2 separate regions of the Homo sapiens genome follow, and region 2 is linked to region 1. Evidence: promoter capture Hi-C in human tissues and cell types (Jung and others, 2019). All regions are on one chromosome and are shown on one strand. The core of a region is centred on a gene start or on the middle of the fragment in contact, and the rest is flanking DNA. Distances in the headings are between cores, read along the strand shown.

The links. Contacts are between HindIII fragments. The study calls those that stand out against the background at their distance.
Region 2: a fragment that was not itself captured here is called in contact with the fragment with the promoter of CMSS1 in region 1 in 1 of the 25 tissues and cell types used here (heart left ventricle).

The regions. Positions count from the first base shown.
Region 1 is chr3:99,816,255-99,819,560 of GRCh38, reverse strand. CMSS1 (cms1 ribosomal small subunit homolog) reads right to left here and starts at 1,699. Exons shown (of 10, transcript NM_032359.4): 1 at 1,518-1,699. The coding sequence starts at 1,581. It overlaps HP09053 (a long non-coding RNA gene), which reads left to right. Exons shown (of 3, transcript NR_110821.1): 2 at 587-641; 3 at 1,089-2,929. LOC105374010 (a long non-coding RNA gene) reads right to left here and starts at 1,699. Exons shown (of 5, transcript NR_189163.1): 1 at 1,518-1,699. RefSeq lists enhancers at 1,433-1,742, 974-1,848 and a silencer at 1,264-2,018. The HindIII fragment of the contact is 4,697 bases long and covers 171-3,306 here.
Region 2 is chr3:98,809,654-98,813,110 of GRCh38, reverse strand. DCBLD2 (discoidin, CUB and LCCL domain containing 2) reads left to right here. Exons shown (of 16, transcript NM_080927.4): 10 at 629-779; 11 at 1,557-1,643; 12 at 1,792-1,917. Among named protein-coding and RNA genes, the nearest start is that of ST3GAL6, 48 kb to the right of the region's middle. The HindIII fragment of the contact is 5,631 bases long and covers 1-3,457 here.

The sequences.
Region 1 (3,306 bases), core at 450-2,949:
TTCTGTTTCTTCACCTATACAAATGAAGAGAATACTTACCTTTTCGGGATGTTATGAAAGTTAAATCAATTCATATTTATGAAGACATTTGTCACATAATAGATACTCAATACATGTTGACTGCCTTTCTTCCAACGGATGAATAACTTGAAAGTCACACAGCTAGTGAGGACTAGAACCAAGAATTGGGATCCCCTTCACCACTCAAACAGAATTCAACTATTTCTTAAATGGCCTCTGTTCATCTTCAATCATATCATAAAATAGAGCTTTTTAACACCTGAGTTGGGAGGGGTAGTTATTAAAGTAAATGTGGAACACCACAGGGCTGCAAAAGAGTCAGGAAGTTTAATCAAGGAAATGTTGTATTGGCTACCTTTCTAAAAATGACATCTGCTTAGTTTGTACCTGAAGGCTTGACCTTCCGGAAACAATGCAACAAATGAAGTTGGTTATTTTTAATGGATATTTCACAACTAGTATTTCAAGATTGTTTGCAGCAAATAGGTATCAAGTGTCTAACATGTGCAGGGCCCTGTGGATGACAGAAGTATGAATCTGACTTTGGCCCTGTCTTCTCTTGTAGAGAAAAGAGGCAGACCTTGAGGAGTGATAAAAACCAACCAACCAATAATTGCATGGTAGGTGTGATGGAACTTAAAAAGTTCAAGGCTAGCCTGACATGGGGGGTCACTTAACGCTACTCTACTTGGGGATGAAATGCCCACTGCATCAGGAGTTGGTAAACACAGCAGAGCATAGTAGAAACTATTCAAATTGTGTTAACTGAATTCTAGTATTGTTTCTGAAAGGAGCTAGCTTTGTGAACTTGTCAAGTTACTTGACATCTTTAGGTTATGTTTCTCATCTGTAAAATAAGTGAGTTCAAAGGATGATCTCTATTTAAGCCTCCTTCCAGTTCTACTATTCCAAATTCCATGATAATGATGATGACCACAAGAAATACAGTAACTTATATTTACCACACATTATATGTCAAGCACTATGCTAAAGTGCATTACTGTACTAACTTCACTTAATCTTCACAACTTTACGAAATGGACATTATTGTTATCATTATTTTACAGATGAGGAAAAGGAGGCTAAACAGTATCAGAATACTGGAGTCGTGATTTGAATGGAGGGAGTCTGAAGCAGCAACCCCTGCTTCTGACCTCAGTCTGAATTGAAAGCAGTTCATGGGTCACCCTTAACCATCATACAAAGTTGCCTCTCTTCACAAAAACTGTCTTATCCATTCTCAAGAAATAAGGAAAAGAGAAAGCTTGTGGAAAGGATCCTTCCTGGCTGGCAGACAGATCTGAGTTAATGTCACAGCTGTCTGTTTCACGTGTTAAAGAATCTCTTGCACCATTTTCCCCGAGATGCTTGCGCGCTCCCAAGGCGGTGCACACCCCTGCTGGGCAAACACCGCGATCGCCAGAAGCGACCAGGGCTGAGGCGCACGGAAGGGCTCCGGGAGAGGCCCCGTAGGAGCGCGGGCACAGAGTGGGTACCTGGGCTGCTGCCTGCTCCAGTCGGCTGGTTCTCCCACCACTCGTCTCCGAGATCGTCTGCCATTTCAGCTCAGGTCTCGACGTGGGCAGAACATCACGGGTAGGCGACCAGCTGCGGAGAATCACGTTGTCTCAAAGCCAGGCGGCCGGCGTAGCTACACGCGGAGCTCCCGCTAGACACTGTCGCCTCCGCCCCGCGGCGATGACGTCACACCTCTGCCCCGCCTCTCCGGCAGCCGCTCCCAGACTCGTCGCAGTTTCCACACAGGCGCCGACAGGCAGAAGCAGTTTGGAAACGCAACATAAATCCCCCCAAAGCTTAAAGACAAAAAGGAACATAAGACGAAAGGGATTGTCATCGTTTTTGATAATGCATTTTAAAAAATTTTGTTTACGTGTTACGTTTCCCGATAAGATTGTGTCGAAAGTGTGAGACACCATGTGAAGACGATTTTTCTCCGCTCAGTTTCAAAGAACTTGCGCAGCGGGAGAAGACCCAAACATGTGCGTGTGTTTTCGCTTGTGCGTCAGTGTTTCAGAGTTTATGTGTTTGTACAGTTTGCTCTTAGAAAACATGCGCAAGGATCCATGACCATGAATGTCGGGCCTTTGTGGTAAATGTAGTTCTGCTATTTATGCAATATGAGTAAAGAAAATGTAATTGGCCTGGAAAGGCTCGCCCACAGAAAGACGCAAGTGGCTCGAAGACCCGCAAGTTGTTTTCCTCATACTCCCTCGGTTGTGTGTCCCACCCCCTATTTGGGAAACGAAGTAATAAGGGAGTCCATTGCTTCGTAACTATAGGTAAGAGACCCGCAGTGCCTCTTGTCTCAGTCCCAACGTGATTTGGCAGGGAGGGACTAGGAAAACCCGCTGGGCGCCAAGTGCTGGGGCTAGCTGTGAAGTAATTGTGGACGGTATTTTTCAGGACATCAAACACAGACGTAAAAATTATACAAAATGTAGTAAAAGCACGCAACGTGCCTGGTACTATGCATGGAATAGTAAGATGAGTCCATTCAGATGTTAGCCTACAGTAGTGGAAATTCAATTTGTAGGAATAAAGGGCTAGACTTCTAATAGGATACATCCTCGGAAATGACAAGACAGGGAAACTTAATCTGATGAGGCTAGGATTAGCCATATGTGGAAAATTACCCCGTGTGCACCCAACTCATAGATGTTTTATAAATGCATTACTGCCTAGACTTTGTCCGCACACTCTAAATGCCCCAAAAGGGAAGATATTATGTATAAATATGGCAAATGTAAAATAATCTATAAAGATCAAAAGTAATATGGCTTTTGTGAAGAAATGTAGATGACGAGATTTTCGTGATTAATAGATTTTTGAAAAAGATAAGAAATGCCAGTGTGGAAGAGGAGTTGCTATGGCTAATAAACATGAAAAGAATTCAGTCTGATTATTAATCTGGGAAATACAAAAAAAACACCACAGCGAGACCGTTTTTCAGGCAATAAATCACAAAATTAAGAAGTATGGGCCGGGCGCGGTGGCTCAAGCCTGTAATCCCAACGCTTTGGGAGGCCGAGGTGGGTGAATCACCTGAGGTCAAGAATTCCAGACCAGCCTGGCCAAAATGGCGAAACCCATCTCTACTAAAAATACAAAAATTAGCCGGGCATGGTGGCAGGCGCCTGTAATTCCAGCTACTTGAGAGTCTGAGGTAGGCGAATTGCTTAAACCCGGGAAGTGGAGGTTGCGGTGAGCCGAGATGGTGCCATTACACTCCAGCCTGGTTGACAAAAGCGAAACTCGGTCTCAAAA
Region 2 (3,457 bases), core at 698-3,197, 1.0 Mb after region 1:
CTAAAAATAATTAATAATTTAAGCATAAAATAGCATTTCAAAGTCACTTCTAGTTTAAATAGCAGCATGGAACAAAAACCGGGATAATAGGAGAACTGTCTTTATGCAGTTTATCCAGTAGGTGGAGGTATATATCTGTTATATGTTTGTTAGTATATGTTCACCTTCAGCCTGTTGAGAGAAAAATTATGAAAAGTACACAAGCAAAATATTTCCCCTAAGACTTGGCATGATCAATTTTGTTTTACTTTAAAAATAAAAATTAATATATTTAAATAGTTGGTAATTCCACAGGACTAGAGTTACTGATTTACTAATAGGATAAATTGTCTCACTGGATTTGAAACCTTTTACCCAAATGCCAAGTTAGCCCTCTTGTTAAGTTCTTAAATCATCTTAAAATCATTTCTATATTAAATATTTTTGTTTCATAAACTTTTGATAAAAATGTGCAGCATCTTAATATTTTTCCAAATTATGATTATTTTCTTAAAAATTGATCCTTATTATCATACTTTCCAGATGTAATTTAAGGCCTAGAGCAAAGAACAAAAACATGTTTAAGTGGAGAAATTTAGCCCTGACCTCTATTGATTTGAAGTACCAATTTTTTGTTGTTTTTTTAAAGATATTTCAAGGAAACAAAGATTATCACCAGGATGTGCGTAATAACTTTTTGCCACCAATTATTGCACGTTTTATTAGAGTGAATCCTACCCAATGGCAGCAGAAAATTGCCATGAAAATGGAGCTGCTCGGATGTCAGTTTATTCCTAAAGGTAAAGAGACAGTTCGTTTAAGATATGTTTTTACTGGATTGCCAATTTAAAATGGTTTTGCTGTTCTCAGAGAGAGTAATTAATAATGTGAGTGTCTTTCTGGTTAAACTCTAATTACAATATCTTCTTAAAGGGATGTTAAAAAAAATGGTTACCCTATTAAAAAGTTAGTTATAAGAATGGTTTCCAAAATTATAAGTGGAAGAAGAAATAGCATCATTCATAAGATAATGTAAATGAGATCACTTTCCAAATTTAATCTCAATCCTAATAATTTTAAATCAGGTGTCATGTACTGTAATATTTGTTTAACATAAGCATGAAAGATTGTAACAATACATTTAAAGCAAGAATAATTTATCTCAATATTATACATTTTAATATACTGTTTACTTTTGTACGCCCAAAGGCTACCACAGTGCCTGACACATCGTTGGCCCTCCATAAATAACTATTAAATGAATTGAATAAGTACTGTATCAAAATGTGGATGACTCCTTTATAGCTTTAGCATTCAACATCACTTTCCACCCCATTATTCTTCTTCCTAAGATTATTTTCAGATGATTTAATTATTTAAAAACTGAGAAATCCTGGCATATTTGTGCCTTTATTGCAGAGTATAATATTTATCCTTCCAATATATTTCTCTCTGAGAGTTAAAATTATTCTGCAGAATTAAATACTTTAGGAAATATTGAAGACATTTAGCATTACTATTTTTAATTATGATTTTTAAAAACAAAATGTTTAAATTTTTCTAAACCATTTTTCAAGGTCGTCCTCCAAAACTTACTCAACCTCCACCTCCTCGGAACAGCAATGACCTCAAAAACACTACAGCCCCTCCAAAAATAGCCAAAGGTATGCCTGTTTTTAATGTGAGAATTTGATATTCCTTGGATTTATGGTGCAACTTTCCAAAAATATATTAAAAGCATTATCAAATAAGTTTATGTTAATCAAGTTGGTACAGATTAAAAAGTAAAGAGCTTTTGAAACTTTTTTAAAGGTCGTGCCCCAAAATTTACGCAACCACTACAACCTCGCAGTAGCAATGAATTTCCTGCACAGACAGAACAAACAACTGCCAGTCCTGATATCAGAAATACTACCGTAACTCCAAATGTAACCAAAGGTATGCAAACATGGAAATGAACGCCTAGTACATAGTATTGTTTTGTTCTTAACTGAAGTTTTCACGGGCATTTTTAAACCTTCAGTTTATTTTCTTCCAACTATAGTTTTTAAGTATAGCAAAAAAAAAAATTTATTTTCTTTCATAGGAAAAGACTGCATTGATCTAAGTTGTAGTCTCTGCTGCCATGTAGAATTGCTCTTTAAATATTTAGAGAAGGCCACTGTGTTGCAGGCCTCCTCTTGTGATTTATTGTTCCTTACAGCTAAACATGTTGACTCTCAGGCTTAGAAATACAATATTTTCTAGAAATAACTGAAATCATAGCAGGAAACAAACTTGTTTCCCTTGATAATATATTAATTTGATGGATAGGGAACTTGATGGCAAAAAGGGGAAAATAAAAACAGAACTTTTAGTAGAAACTAGTAATTGTTAAAAAATACTCATAGTTAACATATTCATAAAAAAAAACTTTGGTCTCTTTTTAAGTGTTTGCAATTATATTTTTTAAGATCATAAATAGAAATTTATTAGAATTTACTTTCAAGTTTTGTTATCAGTGATAAATAAGGTCTCAAAATACATAAAACATAGTAGTCTTACTAGTTGTTGAAAAACAAAATTTCAATTGAATTCAAAAAAGTGTCAGTGTCATAGTAGACTAAGTATCAGAGTTGTCACATAAAAAGCTTCCTTGTTTTCAGGAAAGTGCAGAGAGAGAAAGCCGTTCATCCAAAGTAATTTGTGCCACATAGAACTTCAGTCATTCTCATTTTTTGAAAGTTTGCCTGGATTCAGATAACTTTCTCTGACTTTCCCCATGTTGGTTCTTTCCCATCTTCTGAAGTATTTTCACAAAGATGAATTACTTTCTCATGCTGCAGGTACAGCTAGAGAGAATCAAGGGTTCTCAGAGGCAGGAGATCTCAGCATCTTTTAACTGCTTACCAGTTGTCAGAAGGCATGTACTAAGGCAGAATCCCAGACCACATGCCTGGATGGAGATCAGTCACTGAAAAGTGTTGCTCATCTTAAAATCTGATTGCATCTCAGACCCTCAAGGCTAAAAAGAGTCCTTAAATAATTTCCTTCCAGAATTAGGATCCCTGTATGCCCAAAAAGAATAACAAAGAATGAGTTGGTCTTCTCAGAGACCTCCTGTCTCTTTTTTAGGGGGATGGTAGTATATAAATTTATTTTTTGAACCTAAGAAGATGTTTTAAAGCCTCTGATTAAATCACACAGCATCCATCTAAACTTGATTATCTTCTCTTGTCTCACTAATCTTATGGAAAAAGCACATTTACCGTTGTGAATTCTGAGTGCTTTCTAGTCTAAGTCATTATTTCTGTTTATGGACTTCTCCATTTTTACAGCCAGGCTGAGAGTGATTTCATGGAAAAGATTATGTCATGGTCAGATTTGTGCCTCTGTAGTTTCCAGGTCCTCCCTCAGTGGGGCCCGTGGCACCAGCTGGCTGACCTTCTGAAAGGCTGCAGTAGCTCTTCTGTCTGTTCTCAACTGTAGCTATTTTACA